Linked DNA regions of Homo sapiens: all the other regions are linked to region 3. Evidence: promoter capture Hi-C in 16 types of primary human blood cells and fetal thymus (Javierre and others, 2016). All regions are on one chromosome and are shown on one strand. Each heading gives the region's core, a stretch centred on a gene start or on the middle of the fragment in contact. The rest is flanking DNA. Distances are from core to core; before and after follow the strand shown.

Evidence for each region. Contacts are between HindIII fragments. The CHiCAGO score rates a contact against its expected background, and 5 or more counts as called.
Region 1: a contact is called between a fragment that was not itself captured here and the fragment with the promoter of SLC2A13 in region 3, in 5 of 17 cell types (naive CD4 T cells, non-activated CD4 T cells, naive CD8 T cells and 2 more). The highest score is 9.6, in naive CD4 T cells.
Region 2: a contact is called between a fragment that was not itself captured here and the fragment with the promoter of SLC2A13 in region 3, in 10 of 17 cell types (M2 macrophages, M1 macrophages, erythroblasts and 7 more). The highest score is 9.0, in M2 macrophages.
Region 4: a fragment that was not itself captured here is called in contact with the fragment with the promoter of SLC2A13 in region 3 in 1 of 17 cell types (neutrophils); the score reaches 5.3 in neutrophils.
Region 5: a contact is called between a fragment that was not itself captured here and the fragment with the promoter of SLC2A13 in region 3, in 3 of 17 cell types (non-activated CD4 T cells, total CD8 T cells and naive CD4 T cells). The highest score is 8.3, in non-activated CD4 T cells.
Region 6: a contact is called between a fragment that was not itself captured here and the fragment with the promoter of SLC2A13 in region 3, in 1 of 17 cell types (M2 macrophages). The highest score is 7.6, in M2 macrophages.
Region 7: a fragment that was not itself captured here is called in contact with the fragment with the promoter of SLC2A13 in region 3 in 1 of 17 cell types (M2 macrophages); the score reaches 5.1 in M2 macrophages.

What each region holds. Positions count from the first base shown.
Region 1 is chr12:39,643,467-39,646,947 of GRCh38, forward strand. REDIC1 (regulator of DNA class I crossover intermediates 1) reads left to right here. Exons shown (of 13, transcript NM_001031748.4): 3 at 313-451; 4 at 2,863-2,995; 5 at 3,374-3,422. Among named protein-coding and RNA genes, the nearest start is that of REDIC1, 19 kb to the left of the region's middle. The HindIII fragment of the contact is 879 bases long and covers 979-1,857 here.
Region 2 is chr12:39,771,853-39,775,439 of GRCh38, forward strand. The region is part of intron 7 of SLC2A13 (solute carrier family 2 member 13); the gene reads right to left. It also overlaps a transcript of REDIC1 not described here. Among named protein-coding and RNA genes, the nearest start is that of REDIC1, 150 kb to the left of the region's middle. The HindIII fragment of the contact is 1,112 bases long and covers 961-2,072 here.
Region 3 is chr12:40,103,850-40,107,426 of GRCh38, forward strand. It overlaps SLC2A13 (solute carrier family 2 member 13), which reads right to left and starts at 2,232. Exons shown (of 10, transcript NM_052885.4): 1 at 1,404-2,232. The coding sequence starts at 1,959. RefSeq lists silencers at 1,666-1,755, 1,766-1,835, 1,856-2,115, 2,136-2,385 and an enhancer at 3,386-3,555. The HindIII fragment of the contact is 3,714 bases long and covers 1-3,475 here.
Region 4 is chr12:40,464,788-40,468,292 of GRCh38, forward strand. MUC19 (mucin 19, oligomeric (gene/pseudogene)) reads left to right here. Exons shown (of 172, transcript NM_173600.2): 49 at 352-426; 50 at 668-802; 51 at 1,186-1,251. Among named protein-coding and RNA genes, the nearest start is that of MUC19, 73 kb to the left of the region's middle. The HindIII fragment of the contact is 3,597 bases long and covers 149-3,505 here.
Region 5 is chr12:39,673,754-39,677,418 of GRCh38, forward strand. The region is part of intron 7 of REDIC1 (regulator of DNA class I crossover intermediates 1); the gene reads left to right. Among named protein-coding and RNA genes, the nearest start is that of REDIC1, 49 kb to the left of the region's middle. RefSeq lists a silencer at 1,988-2,178. The HindIII fragment of the contact is 2,013 bases long and covers 1,090-3,102 here.
Region 6 is chr12:39,752,877-39,756,504 of GRCh38, forward strand. SLC2A13 (solute carrier family 2 member 13) reads right to left here. Exons shown (of 10, transcript NM_052885.4): 10 at 2,149-3,628. It also overlaps a transcript of REDIC1 not described here. Among named protein-coding and RNA genes, the nearest start is that of REDIC1, 130 kb to the left of the region's middle. The HindIII fragment of the contact is 9,809 bases long and covers 1-3,628 here.
Region 7 is chr12:39,810,886-39,814,505 of GRCh38, forward strand. The region is part of intron 7 of SLC2A13 (solute carrier family 2 member 13); the gene reads right to left. It also overlaps a transcript of REDIC1 not described here. Among named protein-coding and RNA genes, the nearest start is that of REDIC1, 190 kb to the left of the region's middle. The HindIII fragment of the contact is 2,326 bases long and covers 506-2,831 here.

The sequences.
Region 1 (3,481 bases), core at 168-2,667, 460 kb before region 3:
ATTGTTCTGTTACCAGATTTTTTTAACTTTCTATATAGAGATAATTTCTAATCTTTTGATTTCAGAGAATAGCTTTATAGCATTCTGTTTTAAAGGTTATGCTTAAGGAAGATGATAAAAGGCTGTGAAATTTAGTCTTTAGGCAAACTGCAAGTTATGATTAATTGTAATGTATTTATAAACATATAAAGATGTCACAAAATATAAAAGTATCAAGTCAATGACTTAATAACATGATTGCTTTTTTATTATTTATAATTCTGTCTAAAACCGCATATTTGCTGCATTGTTTTTAATTTTTAATTATTTTAGGAATATTTTGAAAAACACAGGTTAAAATCAAAAATGAAATCACTGGGAGTTTTATCTCCTGTCAAAAATTCTGCTGTCAGCTTAGACATTCTTAACCTATATATGGTAAATCAGATATCTTGCAAGAAGAAAATTCCTGGTAAGTCATTCCAATTGCATTCTGTTTTGAACTTGATGTGATCATAATAATGTTTAGTCTTCTAATTAGTTTGTAATTTTTGAGCTCAAAGCATGTGGAAAATTAATTTTAAAATTTGGTTGCTCTCTTAAATTAGATGCCTAGTTAATATCTGCTTAAAACGTTTTGTTGCTTAATCCAATTTTTATTTTTATTTTGTGTATGTGTTATATAAAATTAATTTATTAGGTGTCACTAAACTTATTATAGTACAGTTGTTACATTATTCTATACAGGCAGGTAGTTACCAAAGTTTAGCTAGAGAGCAGGGAATAAATGTTAATACATATCAACAAATTAACTATTCTTTACTATTTAAAGGGTATGTCTGAAAGGAAGATCTGCAAAGATTTTTGCTTCAATGACTAGTTTCCTATGTCATCACTTGAATTATTTATTACACTTTCCTGGGATGTTAATCATAGAAGTCTAATACTGCAAAATAAAGTCCATTTTGTCATATATTTTGATACTTCAAGTAAATAAAAAGCTTAATTAGAGTATATTTTTCCTCTTTTAGAGGAACTTGTGTCTGATATTTAATTTTTAAAACAACTGCTAAAAATGAGAGCATAAAAATAAGACAATTTATCAGGAAGGGATAGAAATTGATCAGAGTATTGTTAATATTTCCTCATTTCCTTTCTCCGTCATTTTTTTTCTCCCTCCACAGATAACAGTTTACACAAGTAAATTTAGTTATACTTTAGAAAGAATAAATACATTGTTCATGGATTTTGAGAATAAAACTTATTGTTGTAAATCTTTTTGATGTATTTACCTTTATTCCCAGTCGTAGGGGAATAAAAATATATTTCCTCATCCATTGCTAGGTTTATGGCTAAACCCTCAATAACAAAAGACAGATTAACAGGAGAAAAACATACAGATTTATTTAGTAAGTTTTATGTGACACAAGAGCCTTGATAAGAAATTTAAGATCTTAAGATTGGAAGAAATGGCTAAACTTGTGTATTTTTCTTGCCAGGTTTGATGAAAAAGTGGATGGTCCTCAAGAAGTATGATTGGATTTTTAAAAGAATGATCTAATAGTAATAAACTAAGGGGATCTTAGCAAGGCCTCTTTGTTCAGATTCTTCTTTGTGACCCTGCGTCTTCAGAGATAGGGATATTATTTTCTTCCAAGTATAACCAGAGCACTTCTCGAATGAGGGTTTTATGACCTGCTTCAGGGGAAAGCTGAGAGTAACCTTCCTGCTTCTGCTGTTTTCTTAAATAGCAAGATGACTTATTTTGGGATAATGGCCTGAACTCCTGCACTTTCTTTTCATTTATTTCTTCAGCATATTTTTATTGGGTACCCACTGTAAGTACTCTACTGGGTGCTGAGGATAAAACAGAAAGCAAGCTTTACTAATCAGGACTCATGGCTGCAAATGACAGAAATTCAAAACAGTTATCTTTTTACTCCTTTAACAGGAAGAGTGATGGTGCAGTGGGCCTCAGAGATGACTTGAAACAGGGACTTGAATACTATCAAGATTCTTTTTCACTTCAGTCATTAACTTTATTCTCTCAGACTGTCTTCATCATTGAGGCTCAAAACATGGCCTTAAGAAACTAATATTACTCACCTTCTCTAGTTTTGCCACCAAGGAAATACTGAGAGTTGTTTCTCTGGTCCCACATTTTAAAATTCCACTGTAAGAATATTTCCTTGTGCTACTGGTACCAATCTCACAGTGAAAAAATTTTGCTTATAACTAGCAGAATGGGATACGATTATTGGTTCACCTTTAGTCAGATGGCTACTGCCAAATCAATTATTTTATCCAGAGAGACAAGACTTTTATTTTGTTTTGTTTTTAAAGACAGGGTTTCACTGTGTTGCCCAAGCTGGTCTTGAACTCTTGGCCTCAAGCCATCCTCCAACTGCAGCCTCCTTAGTAACTGGGATTACAGGCATGAGCCACTATGCCTGGCTTGAGGCAGAGTTTTATAAGAAGATATAAAATCTACACTATAACTATGTATATAGTTTGGGTGGGTGTATCACAAAAATAGAGTAGGTGAAAGTACTGACCAGAGAAAGGGAAAATATATATAGTACTGTGGGAATATATAACATAGTAACTAATCTAGTCTGGAGATCATAGAAATCTTGGTGGAAGAAAAAGTAGAACTAAATTAATAGGGCAGCTATAATGAGGAATATATAAGATGATGAATATGTTTTAAAGTCTCTGATAGTTGTTTATATTGTAATGATTTATTTTAGCACTGATAGAATGTAAATGTTTTAGTAAAATTTCTTAGATATATGTTTATGTAATGAACATGATTTATTAAACAGTACTTTTACAATTTTTTATTCTTATTTTAAAATTATAATTATATATTTTTTATTATAGAAACTGTGAGAAAACCAACCCATGTGAACATGAATAGAGACATAAAAATGCCCCTAAGAAAGCATAATTTAGAACTTACAATGTCGCCTCACTGTGTACCTTCTAAACTCTGCCTTGATGATACAGAAACCAAGTAGGTTTTAGCTAGGATTTATATTATTAGGTGTTTAAACTGGTTATTAACAACACTTTTACTCACTCGAAAATGTATAAAATACTTACCTTCTACCCCCAGTTTTTGTTTGTTTGGCTGTTAACAGTATTATGCAATGATTAAGACCTTCATCAAATGATCCAGATTTTGTACACTTTGTTTGACTTACCTTATCATAAAAATGTCTGTATCTAGTATTAATATAATTTTTATAAAACTTAGTAATATTATGACCCTGTAGTGATTTACTTAGGTTTCTATATGTTTTGTGTAGAACAGTATGAATTTTAAATATAGGAAAGGACAGTCGATTTTATTTCAATTTATATTTTTAACCTAAATTTTTCTTTTCATTAGTGTAAACTGTCAAAGACTAAGTAGCAAGGAAGATCTTGGCCCAGTCCAGGTGAGATTTTTAAAAAAATTCTATAGGTTATTTCAGCAATTGTGATATGCTACCTAATG
Region 2 (3,587 bases), core at 267-2,766, 330 kb before region 3:
CAATCCTTTTATGCAACTAAACTAAATTACTTATTTTCTGAACCTACAGTCTAGACCCAGTATCTCCTACTCATGACGTTTCCTGTAACTGAAGGCAAACTCTTACTCTTGATATCTACTGTCAGTATCTACCATCAATTCCTACCTCATCACCCAAGGCCTGTGTGGATGCTACCCATTCACCTGTCCGAGATATTCTCTCCTCCTCTCAACTCCTTTTCACTTTCCTCATTTATGTCATTATCATATAGTGCTCTGTATGGTCATATATTAATATACTCCTTCTTCTACGGTACTGAGATTTCATCCCAGGGAGTACAGCATGGCACAAGGGTCAAGAGCACAGGGTCTAATGTCAGACTGCATGAGTTTGTATCTCAGTTCTCTCCCTTACCAGCTTTGTAACTTTGGCCAAGTTACTTAACCTCTCTGTGTCTCAATTTTCTTGTAAAATAAGAGTCCATATAGGGTTGTTACAAAGATTAAACAAGGTGATAACTGCTTGGCACATAGAAAGCAATTTATAAGGGCTTGCCAAAAGAATAATCACCGTGCTATTTTTTTTTTAAATCTCAACCTATTGTCCATCATAATACCCTATGTAGAGATAAATGTTCCTTGAATGATGAAGCTTTTACATTTGCATTTGTTTAATTGTGAGTAGAAAACAGCATTAGATGTCCCTTGACCAATAATCCCCAGCAATGAAATAGTCTTTTGAGTCATGAAGATTTAAGAAAATAGGAAAGGAAAGAAAAAAGAGAAGAAGAAAGAAAAAAGAAAGGCAGGCAGGTAGGCAGGCTCCTGTAAGGAGGAATACTTACAAATAATGAAATAACTAAGATTCACTGAACAATTTTCTATTTACTCTTTTCGTTATTATCACAGTTCCTAGGGTGATCTCCTGCTGTGGCAATGAAGTAGGATACTTTAGAGTGGACTCTGTGCTTGCCCTGATGAAGCTTTTTGCCATCTGGCTATGCACGTTTACATGTGCAAAAAAAAGGCCAAGTAGCTCCTCATCATCCTCATGCTGATTTTGGGAAGGCACTGCAGGCACTAACTTGGCAGAGTTACATACTCAGCAATACGTAGATAGCTAATGACTGAGAATGTGACATCACACCTGACCTTCAAAATATAAACACTAGAAATACCAACTAAAAAATAAAAATGCAGATTTCAAACATTATTGCAAAATATCCTCATGCTTTCCTGGCAACTGCTGGTAGAAGAACATAATGCTCCCGAAAAGGAACAAAAATACTTTGACATCAGTGTGTGGGCTGGGATTAGAAAAAGTCATGCTCTTGGATGTGGCACCTTTTCACCACATCCTAGAGCAAAACCTGAAAATGACTGCAATAATGGGAAGCTGCTCAGAGGGCACTGCAGTGGACAAAGCAGCAGAATTGCATGCAATCAGGTGAAATATGTCTCATTTTGGCTGAGTGAGAGAACTAATCCTTACCAGCAGAATGACTAGGCTAAAACCTGATATACAGACCAAATAAATAATCGGTTCCCTGTTCCAATCATGGAATACACAGAACTCCCTTTAGTAATAACATGTAGAAATTAACAGCTCCCTTTGAAGGTGGAACAATGCTCCCCTGCCCACTCAACACCCACCAAACCTAGTTCATACGTAGATCTATTTCTGCCTTTTAAAATGTTACCTCTCCATCATTTATCTTTAGAGTTTCAAACCTAAGAAATAACCAAAGGAACTTAAGCAGTGCAAATATACAACTGTTCTTGCTAGTTAGCCATAAGTAGTATATTCCTTGCTTCCTACACAGCACATGCTGTCTATATTGCCCCTTTATTCTCCATGATGAAATAATTTGACTGCTCCAGGCTTATATATGGGAGTAGAGGAAAAGAAATATGACCTGTGTATAAAAACCAAAACTTCCAACTTCATATATTGAGTCCTAATCACTGATAAATGTATGAAACTTAGTTCCCTTCCCAAAGAGTTTATAAAAGATCCAGAATTTTAGAAAAGGGGAGAGCTTACTACAGTTCGTGTGACACATCTACCATCGTTCTACTGGGCTTACTGCACAAGCTTGCTAATTCATTACTGAGGAGTGTCAGTGAAGCACGATTTTATTTCCAGTTCCTGACGCAGGACTGTGATTTTTCTGGACAAGGTCCCTAAGCTATCACCTCAAAACATAGATATCCCTCTAAAAGTTAACCCTAATAGTTCTTTGTTGATAGAAAGTTAACCCTAATAGTTCTTTATTGATAGAAATTTATGATATAATTACACCATTACAATTTGAGGGTAGTGGTGAAAACGTACCTAGGAAAGCACAGAGTATCTCTCCAGGATAGGACACCTTCACTCTTATCTGAGGAGAACTAAAGAAGCAAAATCCTAATTCCCAACCAGAGATTTAGGATGGTGTAAATTTACTCTAAGCAACCCAAGTTATAAGAAATTCTAACTTCCGGGCATCCCTTCAAAGCAACCATGAAAAGTTACTGTTACAAACTTGGCCCATTACTTCTCAGATACTTTTAATTATTGTTCAGTAGGCATATTTCCTATTTAATAATCTAAAATGAAATAAACTTATGTCAAGGGTGGCCACATAGCATTTAAACTCTAATAACATCTCTGTGATTTTGAATAATTTTAGAAAAGTATGGTTTCCTAGCTTGCAGTGTGGAGACCATGTTGAAAATCCTGCCCTTGAATGATTTCCCATTGTCCAGCCTTTTTTTTTTTTTTTTGGTTTTGTAATTTTCCTGCAGAAGATTGTCATTTACAGACAAGATGAAAAACCTATTCTTTTGTTAATTACTATTATTTTCTAATAAAAAAGTCTTTATTGAGACAATTAAATCATAGATATGGGTAAATTTCAAAAGCCTTAGAAATTTGGAGCAAAAAGCCACTTTTTTCCTGAATAAAATATTATTTATCTATAAATCATTGCATCTAAACTCCTTATCGGTATATTGACTACCTTATATACCCCAAGTATGCAAAATAGATGGATGGAGTATGGACAGATGCAAATTAAAACAATGATAACATTTAAAGGTGATGAGACTATAGCAATAGTGGTACAGTCTCTAATTCTGGTAACAATTTAAATTGATATAATTTCCTTTTGGAAAGAAATTTGGCAATTTGAACATTAGAATATTCATCCCCTCTGTCTCAGTCTGATATCTAAAGTGTATCCTTAGGAAACCACTTAAATGGGAAATTATATGCTTCAAGATGTACTTTTCTCTGTGCTTTCATTTATCACAAGATTAACATAGATAGAGAATTAGAAACCATAAAAGTCTCCCACAATGGAAGGGTAGTTAATGCAATTAAGGTACAACTGAATAAAAAAGCAGCCATTAAAATAATCATTTTAAAGTAAATTGGGCCACAAAGGTTGGTCTGGATAGAAGACTGGTGAAAATGAAGTCTTAGGTAACGTAAGTTACTTTCATTTTGGCACCAAACTGGCCAACAAGCAAGGCAATAGGTGTATGCAAAATCCAGGACATGAGGATGTGGATGTGGCCTACTTCTGCCTCTCCAGTTCCTCCTGTATTCCTGAAGTTCTCTG
Region 3 (3,577 bases), core at 982-3,481:
TCAGCTGGATTTTTTGGTCACTTTGGATATTTTTGTGCCAACTTAATATGTTACGGAGAGCTTTGCCCTACCTTTGCTAATTAACAGTACAATAAACAGCAAAAGGAAGGTCACTACTGACAAACTTTGAATATAAAGTGCAGTGAGCTGGGTTTTAGGCTCATGGTTCCCGCATGTGGAGTTGAATATATGGCCTTTGCTTCCCTTCAGAACCCACAGAGAAAGGGTGAAAAGCACAAACATCAAACAAGTGGTGAATACACAGATCAGCAGCAGCCCCAGGTTTAAAGCGCTTTCATCAAGCCCCAGCCATAGGGAAGAAATACTTCAACAGCACCCTAAGGGAAACAAAAAACTGAATTATGAAACGAAACATTAAAAAAGCATCAGCGGTGTGTCTTAGAAAAATTACTAGTGAGATTTAAGTCACAGCCCCCCACTTTCCCTCAAAAGTGCTTTCTAATAATACAGAGCACATTCCAAATAGCTTCCCTCTGCCAAAAACTTGCCAATTGTACCTCCCCTGCTCAGCAACCAGGGTGAAAAAAATTCAACGCCAGGAGAACCTTAATGCCTTCATTTTTGAAGTAAATTCCAAACATTTATCTTGCGGGGCATTTATCCACAGGGGGAGTAGCTCCTAAATGAATTAAGGAAGTGAATATGACCTTTAATAGATAATTTGGTTCCCAACTGGAAAGCAGGAGAGGAAAAACAAAGAGGAGAATGGATAAAAAAGGATTCAAATGAAAAAGTTGGAAAAACAGAGGAGAATGGAATTTACTTGGGAAAAGAATGAAAGCTGAAAGGCAATAGAAAAAGCATAAAAGCAAAAGGAGATGCCATCTAAAGACAAATGCTAGATAAGCAAAGAGGGCAGGGGTCGCTAATAAACCTTTCAGAGTCCAGAATTACTTAACTCTAAATATTATCTCACTGTAACTTGACGATGGTCTAGGTTCCAGGCTGGGAGCCCCAGAAAACGAAAGGGGCTAGCAGTGGAGAGGCAAGGTGGGACAGTGCAGGAAAGCAGAGACCCTCGTAAGCTCAAGAAGCAGCATCAGGTTAGGCTGGATCAAGGAAAGAGCTGGTGCTCAGCTAGGTTTCTGGAAGTGCTGAGAGGCAACAACCACTTGGACTGACTGGTCCGTGGCCTATCAAAGATTCCACGTGCGCTCGAGGGAGACTAGAGTGACACCCCCTCCCCCCCGACCCTCCCACCTCCCGGGAGAGCCTTGGAGGCTGGACCAACAAACAGATGGGCTCTGGAGGCCAGAGAAGTGGAGGATTCTCTGACCCTGGGAGACCAGACGGGGACCCCGATGGGCAAGAGGCACGCAACACCCAGGGTCAAGGGCGGTGACAATGGGATCCCGGGCGCCCTTCACGGAGCCCGAACTCACCGATGCCGAGTCCCACGACCAGGCGGCCGGCGAGCAGTGTCTCCTTGTTGTTGGCCGCAGCCAGCACCGCGGAGCCGGCGGTGAAGAGGGCACTGGCCAGGAGGATGGCAGCGCGGCGGCCGAAGACGCCGTTGAGGGCGCCTCCGGCCAGCGCCGAGACGGCAGCCGCCCCCACCGTGCTGGACACCAGCAGCTCCTGCCACAGCGCGTCCAGACTGAGCTGCCGCTTGAGCAGCAGCATGGCCCCTGACACCACCCCGGTGTCATAGCCAAACAGGAAGCCGCCCAGCGCGGAGAAGACGGCCACCACGTACACGAAGGCGGGGGTCTCGTCCTGCTGGAACTGCCGCCGCGCCGCGCGCTCCAGGTCCCCGACGCCGCCGCCGCCCGCGCCCGCGCTCTGCAGGCTGGTGCTCGATTCGGCGGCAGCCAGGAGGCTGCACTCCCCGGCCGCGCTCGCCGCGTCCGGCTCCGGCTGCTTCCTGCGCCGCTCGCCCATCAGGCTGCTCAGGCTCCGCAGCGTGTACTCCACATTCTCGCTTGCCTTGCGGGACATAGGGCAGGGGCCCGGGGCTGCCCGGGGGGACGCGGCTCCGCGGGCCGGCAGTCTCGGCGAGCTAGACAGCCCGAGCCGGCGGGAGCAACCGCCGCTGCCGCCGCTTTCTTCCTCCCGGCTTCCGCTCCGGCTGCCACGGCAGCAGCCGCCGCCACGGCCGCTCCGGGGAGAAAGTTGCTGCCCGCCGCGCTCCGACGCTGCGGAGTTGGAGCCCGGCGGGTCTCACTCCACACTCACGCCCCGCGCCTGCCGAGCTGGCGCTGCGGAGCGGGCGGGAGGCGGGACCGCGGGTCACGTGCAACCCCGGGCCGGCGGGGCGGGGCCCGGGAAACGTCCCGCCCCCTCCTTGGGCGGGGCCAGGCTCAGCCCGCCCCGGACCCCTAAACCCCGCCCTCCCGGTGGGTGCGACCTCTGACCTAGGCTCCCTCATTTAGGGCTCTGGCAACCGTATGGAATTAACCCTGCCTTCCGAGCTGCAGCGGTGGAGCAAGCCAATGTGGCGATGCCATCAGGCAACAGGCTTCCAGACGGGAAGCCACCCAGAATGTTTGCCGTGTTTGGAGAGGAGGGAGAGAGCACCTAAACCAGCCTCACTGTCCTTCCAGCAGCCTAGAGAGAGGGCTGGAAAAAATATCCTAGAATAGGACCTAGCAAGTACCCTTCCTTTTATAGTATTGTGACATTACCCAGCGTGGTCTACTTCCCTGGCATTAAATGTGTTTGTTCTGGAGCAATTCAGGGCTGCATGCTCCCATTTCTATAGCTAGTTTCCACTCTCATCGCCAGTCCCTCCTCAATTTATGCTTATTTTAAAGGAATGGTACATTTGATTCTTTGAGGACAGAGAACATATCTCTGTGGTGAATCCCAAACCCTCCTTCCATGGATCCCCGACCTGTAAAAGAAAATTCACATATATGCATTCCACTCATGTAACGGGTAATTCCCAGAAATAGAAAGAAAACTCAAGACCCTGATTTGTGATTCGGCAGGCAGTCTCCATTTCCCCGCCCCAACATGCTAACCAAAAGGTAGGATAGCTTCTCTCCTGAGAATCCCCACTGTTGCCCTCCATGAGGCACTGTTTTAACAGCCTCATTTACTTGAAACAAAGCAAAGATAACGTTATTTGCAACCAATTTTTTAAACTGTTGAGTGAATTAACAGTTGTTGGTTCATTTGGGGTTTGTTTCCCCCTTTAATTTAAATGTTTTTAAAATATACAGTTGCGCATCAGGGGCTAAAGATAGTTTGTTTTGTTTTGTTTTGTTTTTGAGACAGATTCTCGCTCTGTCGCCCAGGCTGGAGTGCAGTGGCGCTATCTCGGCACACTGCAGCCTCCGCCTCCCAGGTTCAAGCGATTCTCCTGCCTCAGCCTTCCTAGCAGCTGGGACTGCTAAAGATGTTTTGTGCCTCTAATTTGCTTTCATTCTTCAGGCTGAGGGCAAAAAGTCAAGCATCATATGATTCTATTCCTACAATTCCACTGCTCTTTTATTTCCCTTATTTGAGCAAAAGCTTTCTTAGCCTGGGGCCTATTTTTCATGCAGCTATAACTTTTTTCCTTTCAGACAAAAGGATTTTGTCATTCCTGTTTCAGTAAAAACTTATATTAGAA
Region 4 (3,505 bases), core at 697-3,196, 360 kb after region 3:
GAATCCTTCACAGACTAATTGAATCTGTCCCTGGAAGAAGGGACCAGGCATTAAATATTTTTTAAAAGCCTCATGGGTCCCACATGCAACCTGGGTTGAGAACCGCTAGGTTCAAATATCTGAATATTGAACAAGTAAATAATAAACAAGCTTATTTACAAGGAATAAGTAAATAAGCACTCTGAGGGATGCCAACAATCATATACGATTCTTATGATCAATTTTTGGAAAGAATGAGCCATTTCTGGAAATGAAGAAGTGTAAACAAAAGGTATTTTGAAAGCAGAGAGTAGCACCCTATGTTCTGCTAAATCAAAGATCATGATACATATTTATTGTCTATTTTGAAAGGAACTACTGGACCCTCAGTGGGTGGAAAAACTGGAGCCACAAGCAGTGAAGCGACATCATCTGAAGGCATGTCAGGTGAGTAGAGGATGTCATTCCGAGGCTGTGGCTTTTGGTGAAAAGGACAATATTTCATCAGACCTCTGCAAATTTCACTAAGTATAAATGCCATCCAACAAAAGATAGAATGGTATATAACTTATTAACATTTTTCAAGAAAAGTTTTAATTTATGCTTTCTCTAAATATTTCCTTCAAAACTACTATGGCACTGGGTTGTCACAATAATGTATATGCACTCCCAATACTGTGTTTGTCAGGTGTAACAGGACAGTCTCTTGGATCTACTGCTGGATCTGACAGTGAAATCACAGCTAAAACATCTTTCACTGGTTCCAGTCCACCTGGGAAACTCACCAGGCCAAGCCCGGGCTCACCTGGTCACTTTAGTGGTGGTGAGTCAGAAACCTAGTTGGAACTTCAGATTCTTATAAGTTTAAGTGAATTTAGAAGGGATGTAATTTTACAACAAATGATCATGGATAGTTTAAGTAGACCACCTACCTCTTTAAAGAAACCCTGAAATTTGTTCAAAGAGTTACTTCATTGTAACCTTTTATGTAGACTAGGCTTGCCAGAGAAAATATAGGAAACCAGTTAATTTGAATTTCACACAAATCAGGAACAGTTCTTTTAGAATGAGTATGTCCCATGCAATAATCAAAACACAGTGTTTATTGTTTGTCTTGGATTCATATTTAACTGGGTGCCCTGTATTTTTATTTCATGATTTTGAAAACTCTGATGCAGACTGAGCACTGTTGCTCTTTTCAATTAGGAACAACTGAATGGGGAAATGTAGCCACCACTGGAGCTGCTGGTGAAAACACTTCTGGAGCATTGGGTATGGAAAGAGCATAATCAGAATAAATCTAGACAGTAGAAGTGTAATTTTTTTTAAATTACAAAATTAAAATTTTGTCGGAGACAAGTTTTCCTGGGGAATTTAATTATTATTATTTGTGTAATGTCAAAACTGCAGAAGATCAGAAATAAATCAAGAAATATTTGTTGTGTGTTCAGTATTATCCTGGGGGATACAGACAACATAAAAGAGGAGTTGAGTAAGGTATTTGTTCTCATAGAACTTCATTTCTGAGCAAAAGAAATTAATATTTATAATACACACAAAAGCAAAACCATGCAAGGCAAAAGATAATCAAAGTGGAGGAATTGTTCAATGACACGCATTGGAGTAAGACTTGAGAGGCAATTCTAGTAAAGTGACTGATTAATTTGATTAAAACAACAGAATTATTCTATTTTGAAAAGAATGTATTATAATCAGTGCACTACAAGCTGTGTCTGTATGCCTCAACTTGAACAAAAACTCAAAATACAAGGAAGCTGAGTGAAATTTTAAGAATCTATCCAACTGCAAGGGAATAAAAAGTAGTTATTCAGGTTTTGGGGAAGGAGGATTAAAAACAAAATGTTCTTCGAATCCAGAACCCCCTGCACAAAGGTAGTACAGAATAAAATATAGGTTTATTATTGAATAAGCATTAAAACAGAATATGATGCACATCAGAGGCAGTCTGTTAAGAGACTGCAAAGTCAGAGAGATATTTCACTCTTTTATATTATATAGCCAAGCAGGTATGACCTACTACACACATGTTCTCAATATAAATGATTATAGTCTTCAAGTAGAAGGACTTGAAAGCACCATTTATTACACATAGTTCACCCTAAATTCGTCTCTGGAAATGAAGCAAGTGAGTAAGCTGAATCTGTGAAGAACCTTCCTTAACCTAATTTCTTACATATTATATCTCTGTTGTAAATATCTGATGACCTGGTTAAATATTCAAACACACTAAAAATCCTTTTATCACAAGCAGAATGTAATTTAATTAGTCATAGTATCAACCTGATCCTTAATTTGCACTGACACTAGTAGAATCGAATAGGATTTAAGCTCAAGAAACCAATGGAAAAATTAAAAAAAAAAAAACCAGGAAAATAGTGGCTGCATAAATTAGAGTCTATAGATACCTCTTTCTTCAAATCATAAAGATCAAAACAGAGCCCACACCTACGGTGTGTAGAGGAGACAGAGAAGAGCCAGACTCCAAAAACTGGGAACGATGGCTCTGAGGCTCACCATAGGGCTGAAATATAGGTAAGGGCATCACAGAAAATAGAGAAGTATAGAGAGGTCCTAATAGTGGTAGAATACCATGATTCTAGTGGTTCAATCAACTAGAGTTGAGCCTCAAAAGGAAAGCCCCACAACTTGAGTGGAAAATGCTGAGAGAAAATCTGGGACCTGGCAGGTCAGAGAGCCCTCATGAATGGAGTTGGAAGAGTACTGGAGAATGCATGGAAGTCTTTGGACAGGGGAGCAACCCTTGGAGCCTGGGTGCCAAAGGAAAAAAATAGGTATGGAAAAATAAGGGTCTCAATAAAACAAGATAGTGATGAAAGCATCAGAAGACAGACAAGGAAAACGTGCCACTTATAAACGAAGCTCCCTCACTGTAAGAACGTAAGAGGGGAGCCCTTTATCTGAGAAATCTGGGAAGTATACTGAAGCCTCCCTGCTGCCCCCTGCGTAGAATCTCCCGCTATTACTGGCCCACAAAACAATAATAATAATAATAATAATAATAATAATAAAGAAATTCCAGTATCGATACACAGCTATTCCTTTATATACATTTTCAAAAACTTTGCATCAATAGCAAGCAAATTCTAAAGATCTAGTCATGAAGCAAAAGAATACAAAAACATAACATTAACGTAAAATAACTAAGGAAACAACCGCAGCTACAAAGATACATCAAAATTACAGATTAAAAATTAAGACTGGAAATAGATAAACAGCAGGAATGTTAAATTGGAATTGGTGAAAACCCAGGAGAAAATTGAAGAAAAAGAAAAATTATCTCAAAAGACCAAATAGCAAGGTGTTCCATTGAGAATAAATAAAACTGAAAATACAGCAAGGATATTAGAGGATAGAGCTGAGAAGAGGTAAACCCTACCCCTGAAATATTGCAGACACTTTCAGAAAAGGTATAATGGGCTAGAGAATGATATAGTTTTAGGAAACAAACAAAAGTATCCAAGATATATTATTGCCTTATCTGGAG
Region 5 (3,665 bases), core at 846-3,345, 430 kb before region 3:
CCCATCATGTGATCTGGTAGTATTTGTAATTATCTTTTATATTTATTTACTTCTCTATTTCTTATCCACTGTATTTGTTAGTGGTTCATTGTCTTTTATTTGTCTATTATCATCCTTCACTAGACTATAACCTCTGTTGTCTCCCTACTACATAGTGGACACATTAAATATTTGTTGAATACACATAAAAGGCTTATTTAGATAATGAATGTTTTTATTAAAATTTTAGTCCATAATTTTTAATGAATTTTATATTTATCTATAGGAAAACATAAATTGTTTAACAAGTTGGACTTACTTGTCTTAATTCTTTTCAGTTTTTTAGGATAATTGCTCTCTGTCATCTCTAGAAGTAAGAATCCTTTCCAACTTTAGTTCCCAAATCAGATGCCATCTGCCTTAATTTTTCTCAAGCAGAAGAATCTCTTCTTTCTTCTGTTTGCTGTTTTAGCATTTGACTGTAGGATAATACCTGTCACTTTGTAATTTTTTTCTTCCTCTTTTATACTGTAAATTTCTTGTTGGCAATAACTACTCTACATTTCTGTATTGTCCACATCTCTTAGAGAGTGATTCCACTGAGTCAGATGCTTAAAATACCTTTTAAAAATCATGATTTTGGAAAATGGCAGGTAAGAGACAGGACTAGTATGCAGCTCCCACTTGGACAGAACAGCAGGTAGAGACTCACATCATGAACTTTTACTCCAAAAAGCACTGCAGAAACATACCAGGAAAACCAAAAGAATTCAAAGACCCTTTGAAAGATGTGGCTTGCTCTGCAAACTCCATGAGACAGCCAAAAAATTCAGTTCCCAAAGTGTGAGGGGGGGATAGCCTGCTTCCAAACACACATCTCCACTGGGGAACCAGAAATCCAGATCATGGGAGAAGGATTTAACCATCCCTAGAGCTGAAATGGAAGTAGGGAGCTAAGCAAAATATAAAAGTGGAAGAAGCAGCTGGAAGAGCCCTGTAGACACTCCTGGTCCCCAGCTTGAGCCCAGGGAAGCCATCCCTGGCCTTCTCTCACAGGGGTCCTTGGGGAAGGTACCCAGTGGAATTGAGGAGGGGCCACAGGGTGAAAGAAGCTTCTGACTGAACTCTGTAATAATTTTGACTAAGCATGAATTTTCATGAGCAGAATCTTGGCGGTGGGGTGCGAATGGGAAATGCAGATATGAGTGCAGAAGCTGCAGCCAACAGTGTGGGTAGACAGGGAGGGGCAAGGCCTGGGAGCCCTGCTTGCTTTCTTAGTGGGGAGGCTCATAGCCTGGGGCAAGATCTCAGCACTGTGTGCCCATTGCCTGGATGTAAACTTGGCACTGTTGGTGGGCATGATGAGAGTGAGACAGGCTTTACTTGCTGTGTGGGAGCTGAGAGAAGCCTATCACCGGAGGCTTTCTCTCAGTGATGAACTGTATGATGCAGCAGAGGTAGCCATAATCCTCTGTGGAACATAACTTCATTGGCCTGAGAACCACCCCCATCCCCCACAGTGGCTGCAGCAAGCACTGCCCAAGGAGGGTCTGAGCACAGACCTTTCTAACTCTGCCCTTACCTGATTTTTTTTTTCCCACTTTGGTAGCCAAAGACAAAAGACATAAACTCTTGGGAACTCTATGGCCCCACCTATTGCTTGAGAAACCTGAAAATTTATCCTGGCCAATGTAGGGCAAACTTGCATACCCCTTCTACTACCACAGGTGGTGCTCTCTTGAAAGTGCCACCTCTGGGCTGGAGGCCAGCCAACTCAGTCCATTATAGCAACTCAGAACAAGCCTGCTCCAAAGAAGGAGAAAACAACAGCTAATTCTACCACGTGCAACATCCTGGCTATCCAGAGGTCCTGAGTCTGTTCATGTGACAACTTCACTGCTAGCATAAGCAGCATTTGAGAAAACCAGTGCATTAAAAACTACAACCAAGGACTCCCACAGAGTCCACATCACTCCCCTGCCACCTCCATTGGAGCAGGTGCTGGTATCCACAGCTGGGAGACCTGAAGATGGATCACCTCATCACATCACAGGACTCTTTGTAGACATTACCCAGCACCAACCTGGAGCCTGATAGCCTCACTGGGGGGCTAGACCCAATCACTGCAGTCTGGCTCATGTGCAGCCCCACCCATAGGGGAACAGGGAGAGCACCACATCAAAGGATCACCCTGTGGGACAAAAGAATCTGAACAGCAGCCCCTGTGTTCCAGATCCTTTCCACTGAGACAGTCCATCCAAATGAGAAGGAACCAGAAAAGTAATTCTGGTACTATGACAAAACAAGTTTCCGTAACACCCCCAAAAGACCACACTAGTTCTCCAGCAATGGATCCAAACCAAGAAGAAATCTCTGAATTGCCAGATAAAGAATTCAGAAGGTTGATTAATATACTACTCAAGGAGGTACTAGAAAAGGGAGAACACCAACTTAAGGAAATAAAAAAAAAAAACCAGATATGGATGAAAAGGTCTTCAGAGAAATAGATGTCATAAAGAAAAGACAATCAAAACTTCTGTAAGTGAAAGATGCACTTAGAGAAATACAAAATACACTGGAAAGTTTCAACAATAGAATCGAACAAGTAGAAGAAAGAACTTGAGTTTGAAGACAAGGCTTTTGAATTAACCCAATCCAGCAAAGACAAAGAAAAACTAATTAATAAAAAATAAATGAACAAAGCCTTCAAGAAATTTGGGATTATGTTAAACAACCAAACATAAGAATAATCAGTGTTCCTGAGTAAGAAGAGAAATCTAAAAGTTTGGAAAACTTATTTGAGGTAATAATCGAGGATAACTTCCCTAGTCTTACTAGAGATCTAGATATTCAAATACAAGAAGCTCAAAGAACACCCAGGAAATTCATCACAAAAAGATGATCACCTAGGTAAATAGTTATCAAGTTATCTAAAGTCAAGACAAAGGAAAGAATTTTAAGAACTGTGAGGCAAAAGCATCAGGTAACCTACAAAGGAAAACCTGTAAGATTAACAAGAGATTTCTCAGCAGAAACCCTACAAGCCAGAAGGAATTGGGATCCTATCTTTAGCCTCCTTAAACAAAATAATATAAGCCAAGGATTTTCTATCCATTGAAACTAAGCTTCATAATGTGAGATAAAGTATTTTTCAGACAAACATGCTGAGAGAATTCACCACTACCAAGCCAGCACTACAAGAAATGCTAAAAGGAGTTCTAAATTTTGAAATACACCAAAATAGAACCTCCTTAAAGCAGAAATCTCACAGGGCTTGTAAAACAATAACACAATGAAAAAAAAAAAAACACCAAGATATCCAGGCAACAACTAACATGATGAATAGAAAAGTACTTCACATGTCAATACTAACATTGAATATAAATGGCCTAAATGCTTCACTTTAGCATTTAGTGTCAGAATGAATAAAAATCCATCCACCAAGTATCCATTGTCTTCAAGAGACTTATGTAACACATAAGAATTCACATAAACTTAAGGGGAAGAGGTGGAAAAAGATATTCCATGCAAACAGAAACCAAAAGCGAGCAGGCGTAGCTATTCTTATATCATACAAAACAGACTTTAAAGCAAAAACAGTTAAAAAAGACAAAGAAGGACATTATATAATGATAAAAGGATTAGAACAACAGGAAAATATCACAATCCTAAATACATATGCACCT
Region 6 (3,628 bases), core at 485-2,984, 350 kb before region 3:
ACTTCTATGCAGTGGTTTCTAAACTATTGTGTGCTGAAAAATCACCTGCAGAGTTGTTGAAAATGGCTTCCTGAGCTGTATCCTCAGAGAATCTGATTCAGCAGGTGGCGAGGCCCGCAGATTTGCATTTGTAACACACTCAGGTGATGCCAATGCTACTAGTCTGAGGACCATGCTTGGAGAACTGCTGCTCTAACGTATGTTTTGTGAGTTTAGTATCTATTTGCTAAAAGTAAAGCATAACAAAATTTTCTTTTTTGTTAAAGACTAGACTGCATGCTGATGATCTGAAATTAGTTTTTGGAGGTGCAGTGGAAAAGTACACAAAACATTAAAGGTTAAAAGAAGTAGCCTCAATGTTTTATACTGCATTCAAAGCATCTATAGTAAGATGAGCTTAATTTCAATACAGCCAATTAGAGAGGGTTAATGTCACGGTTTTTGTTTGAATCAGGTTTCAAAAATTACTTTTTAAAACATTGAAAAGACTTTAAATGAGAGATTACTGATTTTCTAAACTTATTTTTATTTCTTGACTGTGAGATCACAGAAATTGTGTATTAAATCCTGTTAATCTGGAGAATATGGGAAGGTTGTTCTTTTCATCAACTGCCATTCAGGAGGACACATATGGAAAAGAGATGGAGAAAGGAAGAAGGACATCAGGCTAGTCAGCCAGATCAGCTCAAATCATTCTGGTCAGCTGAGCTGGGAGGACATATGTCAAAGAAGCCAATGTGCTCCTGTTCCTAGTAGTTGTTCTCAGGAAAGGATTTTATAAGCAAATTGCCTGTGCTTTGAACATTGTGACCTTAGTAGCATCAGGGATAGGATATGGATGATGAAAACAAAAGCTAACAGTTATCCAGTCCTTACTATATGCTACTGCTCTACTTGCTTTCCATGATTCATTGATAACCTTCACTACACACAAGTGAGGTAGACGGTAGTAGCATCTCATTTTATAGACAATGAAAGTGAGGCAATGAGTGGTTCAGTAATTTAGGTTACTAGGCAGTAAGTTGAAAAGCTGGGATTCAAATCTAAATGATTTGAATTCAGTCTGACCTCTTAGACAATGCATTATATTGCCTCACATTTGACAAGAGTCTCTAAATGAAGATTTTTCAGGATTTGTTCCTGTAATCCATATGCACTCTTTTACAATGCAAGGATTCCACAATTTCTTTCTGTTTTTAATCTATCTGCCTGGGTCTGAAAAGATGTTCCAAAGGAGGACATAGAGGGGAAGACTTTTGGTGTAGTCACTGCAAAGAAGAGTTTTCTATGACTTTCTAGTGTGATCTTGGGCAAGTGACAAAAATGTTTTGAACTTAAGTTTTAGTACCTGGAAAAGGATGACAATGTTTATTCCACAGGATTGGACAATTAAATGAGGATTTTTCTGCCCACTGATACTGACATGTTCTGCACTATTCAGGTGTCCGTTATTCAGGTGAGTGGACAATTTATGTGTAATTCGTGGGATTTTCAAGGGTCATTTGACTTGGATTTTTGCCTTACCTGCTGACGTTAAGAACCTTAGTTAGATGTAACTCAACTGTAAGCCTTTGAATGACAGTAGGTCTAGAGTCTTCAGAAGATCTCCTTGGGCTATTTCTAAGTCAGGCTCAGGAAGACACACAACTAATTATGGACACGTGTCTAGCAACTGCCAATATCAAACAAGTGTATATTTGCTAATTATAGCTATGATTGAGGCAGAATGGCAAGGGAGAGCAACGGAGTCCCAAAAAGAACTGTCAACTGGCCTTCCAGCACGATTGTTCATTTTCACTTACAGAACCACCACCAAAGATAATTTTTGACAACTCAACTTAATGGTTCATGTCAACATCTGGTTCTGACAATAACTATAATTATTACTTCAAGGGTTCCTAAGCACCACATTTCACAGTTTTATATTCAGTATTTAGAATAATTCTTTAGAACAATTTTTAGGTATTATAAAATATTTTTAAAAGATGATTTATCATATCCATAATCAAAAGAAATAAAATATCATTAAAATGAGTAGGACTGCATTAATATATAGAGGTAGATTGTCTTTCTAGATGCTTTAACTATCATCTAACCTACATCCAAGGAAGATAACTAGAAAAAATAAATAAGTGCAAGGGAAGTTAATGAGTAATGAATTATTTTAACTTTTATTTGATTATTTTCATTTACAGTTCTGGCACTGACACTTTTTTTAAAAAAAGATTTTAATTTTATGTAAAGATTGAACTTCAATAAAATAACTTAAAAAACATTTACATGTATATCACTAAATCTCCATAAAATATACAATACTTTTGATACAGCATAGGCTAGGATGACTTTGAAGGAAATGGTACATATTCATAATTTTTAAGAGATATCCCATATATCGCTTGTGGGAATAAATACTTATATTGAATTTGCCAAGACATCTGAAGTATTAAATACTATATAACATGCACTCAGAAATTAAAATATACAGTTTGAAATACATATATTTTAAAAGCATAAAACTGTGATTTGATTTAATCTAGGTATACATTAGAGCTTCTAAATAGAAATTTGAATATTTATTACAAATAAAAGATACTTTAACATCAAGTGATATATAGTCCAAAAGCTGCTAGGAGACAGTTTGGACGTGTAGAATATAAATTTCTACTTTGGCTAGAGTTGTCTCTTCTTTTTTAACCTTTAAATGAGATGGAATAATGTTGTTTGCTAAAACTTTAAAACTTTACAAAATGTTGGTTACTCATTAGCTGCATGATCCACTTCTTTTTCTCATTTATGCTGACATGACAAAATCAAACACATGAACTTAACTGTCTAAAATAAAAATGTGAATATTACTGCTAAATGAAGGCATTTAAAATTCCATAGACCAAATTACTCAAGTACAACAGACTATATATTTTGTACATATAAAGATTTACATAAATTATATTGTTTTAGCTCACTAGCAAATTATACGGATAAAATACTTTCATGAACTTCTGAACATCAACACTCTTATAAAACACCTCTTTGATGATTACTGGCACACAAAAATTTCCTTCTCTAAAGAGACAAGATACAAGAAAGAGTTGGTAGCAGTTAGCTATTTGGCATTTTTAAATGATTGCTATTTCTAGAAAAATAGCAGCAGTATTGCTCACCTAGAAGAGCTGAATGTACCGACAATTTATAGACTGCTACAACCTGAACCATTTCATCAAATTGGCTTTACATTATTGTACATGAGGCCAAGAAGATTGGTAAAAGTGACAGAAAACAGGATGTAAAAATTAATCCACAGAACAATTCTGAGCCTTCTTATTGGCAGCAGCTACATATGAGCTATAAATTTTAACCACAATTTAATACATTTTGCTATAAAGCACATATTATAAATTCTCTGCTCCTGGTCTGATATAATCATCTATTTCTTTTACTCATAGATACTGAAAAGGTCTTAATTTGGTAATTAAAAACTTGTCACAACAAGTGAATAAAAGTCAGTTGTTAGGTACTTAGTATAAGTTGACATTTTATAACTTGCAATATGGTAAAAAAAAATCTGATTATAACAAAACGTCTCATTAATTTTGTTGTTTTTAATAATTGTGCTGATGAAATAAAACCA
Region 7 (3,620 bases), core at 419-2,918, 290 kb before region 3:
TTTCTTTCTTGCAGTTTCTGGATAGATTTGGTAATGAAGATAAAACCAACCTTATAAAATGAGTTGGGAAATTTCCCCCACTCTGCCCTTTTCTGAAAGAGTTTATATAGGATTGGCATTATTTCTTCTTTAAATATCTGGTTTAATTCACCAATGCAGTTTTCTTTGTGGGGAGATTTTTAATACAAATTTGATTTTTTAAATAGATGATTTAGTTTTCCTATTTCTTTTGGAAATATGTGTCACCAGGAATTTTCTCCATTTATTAGAAGTGCTCTCTTTTAATTATAATAATAGAAAGTTGGGTCTCCTTTTCTCCCTAAACGAGTCCAGCTATGACTTAATCTGCTTTTTATTGATCTCTTCAAGAAATTACCTTTTGATTTCATTTACTTCATCTATTGCTTTTACATTTTCTATTTTATTGTTTCCTACTACCATTATATCTTTCCTTCTAATTACTTTGGGTTTTACTTGCTCTTCATTTTTTAGCTTCATAATTGTAAGCTTAGGTAATTGATTTTAAACCTTTCAAAATTTTCTAATATACTTATTTTAAAGTATAAGTTTGCTGTTAAGTATTGCTTTAGCTGTCCCCTGACGTTCTTGATATGTTATAATTTCATTTTCATTGACTTCAAAACATTTTCTAATTACCTTGTGATGTCCTTTTTTACAGCATGGGTTATTTAGAAATGTATTGTTTAATATTCAAATATTTAGTAATTTTTGTGAAAATTTTTTTTACTGATTTCTAAGAAGCTCTATTATTAGAGGAATATACATTTAAGAATTGTATGTCTTGATGAATTGGCCACTTTATTATAAGCCATCCTTCTTAATCTCTGATAATATTCCTTAATCTGGAGTCTTTGTCAAATATTAACAAAAGCACTCTAGCTTTATATGATTAGTGTTAGTACAGTATGTCTGTTTCCATCCCCATTTTTCTAGACAGCAGACAGTTGCATTTGTTTTCATGTCTAATTGGACAACTCTGTCTTTTACTGGAGTTTCTGTCTTTTATTGGAGTTTCTAAACAATTTATTTTAACATAGTTTACCAATAGAGTTGGTTTAAATCTCTAATTTGTTTCTTTTATGGTTATCTCATAAAAGAAACAACTTTGTTACTTGTCTTAGTCTGTTTAAGCTGCTATAACAGAATACCACAGACTGGATGGCTCTTACACAAAGAAATTTATTTCTCAGGGTTTTGGAGGCTGGGAAGTCCAAGATCTAGGCACAAGAAGATTTGGTGTCTGGTGAGGGTCTGCTCCCTGGTTCATAGCCATCTTTCATCTGTGCCCTCACATGGTAGAATGGAAGAGGGAATCTATCTGGGGCCCCTTTATAAAGGCACTTATCCCATTTATGATGACTCCACCCTCATGACCTAATCACCTCCCAAAGGCCCCACCTCTAAATATCCTCACATTGGGACTAATTTCTTTTTTCTTTTCTTTTCTTTTCTTTTCTTTTCTTTTCTTTTCTTTTCTTTCTTTCTCTCTCTCTTTCTTCCTTCCTTCCTTCCTTCCTGCCTTCCTTCCTTTTCTTTCTTCTCTTTCTTTCTTTCTCCTTTCTTTCTCCCCTTCTCTCTTTTTGTGAGATAGATGCTTGCTCTGTTGCTCAGGCTGGAGTGCAGTGGTGCAATCTCAGCTCACTGCAACCTCCGCCTCTGAGATTCAAGCGATTCTCCTGCCTCAGCCTCCTGAGTAGCTAGGACTACAGGCGCCCACGGCTACGCCCGGCTGATTTGTATATTTTTAGTAGAGATGAGGTTTCACCATGTTGGCCATGCTGGTCTCGAATCCTGGCCTCAAGTGATCCACCTGCCTCAGCCTCCCAAACTGCTGGGATTACGGGCGTGAGTCATTGCACCTGGCGGTTTCTAATTTCAACATATGACTTTAGGGGGTGGGGGGACAAACATTTAGTTTGTAGTATTACCTTTTTTTTTTTTTTTTTGAGATAGAGTCTCACTCTGTCACCCAGGCTGGAGTGTAATGGTGTGATCTCCCTGCAACCTCTGCCTCCTGGGTTCAAGTGATTCTCCTGCCTCAGCCTCCCAAGTAGCAGGGATTACAGGCGCCTGACATCATGCCCAGCTAATTTTTTTTTTTTTTTTTTTTTTTTTTTTAGTAGAGATGGGGTTTCACCATGTTGGCCACGCTGGTCTCAAACTCCTGGCCTCAAGTGATCCACCTACCTCGGCCTCCCAATGTGCTGGGATTACAGGCGTGACCCACTGTGCCCAGCCTATAGTATTACTTTTGCCCTCCCTTTAAAACTTCTTTTATTGGATTAATTAGATATTTTTTGCATTCCATTTTATCTATTCTGTTTGTTTCTTAGCTATCTTAAAAATACTTTTGTCTTTGATCTAGGTCAGCATTTATTTTGACATACATCAAAATTTTATTTTATTACAAATATTTTCAAATATATTCAAAAGTAGAGAGTATAGTATAATTAACCGGATGTACCCATAACAAACTTTCAACAACTGTAAACACATGGCCAATGACATTTCATCTAAATTGTCACTTAATCCACCTCTCCTGGGTTACTCTGAAGCAAATTTCAGATACCATATTTCATCTGTTACTATTTCAGTATGTATCTCTGCAAGGACTTAAAAAATATATAACAATATGATTACTGCACCTGAAAAATTAACAATAATTTCTTAAGAACATCAAACAGCCAATCACTGTTCACACTTTCCTGGTTGTCTTTAAGTGACTTTTTTCAGTTCATTTGAATCAAGATTCAAATAAGGCCCATTCCTTGCCAACTGTCTGTTTTTATTGGAGTAGTGGGGGATGAAGAAGCTTCAGGGAGACTTGAAACACGGCTGCAGCCACTACCATCTACAATCTCAATGTGAGTTCCATTTGATTTAAAATTTAAAATAGCAATTAAAAAGATGTAATTGGGAATATTAACTGAACAGAACCCCTACACAGGCATTTTAAAATTGGAGTTTCCATTTTACGCTGAAGAATGTCATTCCTGGAAACTGTCTGAAGCCTACACAGTCACATCTTGGATAACTCCACATTTCGAAAGTTTCAATCTTGGACAATTTCCAGTATGAGTGATTTCGTATATTACTTCATCTATATTGTATTGCCAAATTCTGTAAAACTATAATCATATCTTTCAAGACGAGGAAAACTGCTCTGAATATTCTCTTCACTTTTGCCCATACTCTTTTCTTTCTTTGTGATAATTAAGAATTAAATTAATTTAAAATGTGAGGTCTGGGGATAATACTTCAAAACGTTAATCAACCATTCTGATGTAGATTGTACTGCTGGAGTTTTAATGTCATTGCTTTACCTCCCCAGGAAATGAGCTACAGATGTAGACAGCAAGTGTAATAGCTTAGGAGGAATAAGCTTATGAAAGACACTTAATGAATTATGTACTTATAATTTCCTCTTTGTACTGTTTTTAAAAACTAGCCTAAACTTTTTCCAAATAGAGAGTAAAGAGAAAACATCTATTCCTTTAAGAACAACACAAGAAGGCTTTAGCTGATCTTTATTGTATCAAGTAACACACTGGCTCACTAAAATCAAAATTCTGATAATGCTAAACACTGTTATAATTGTA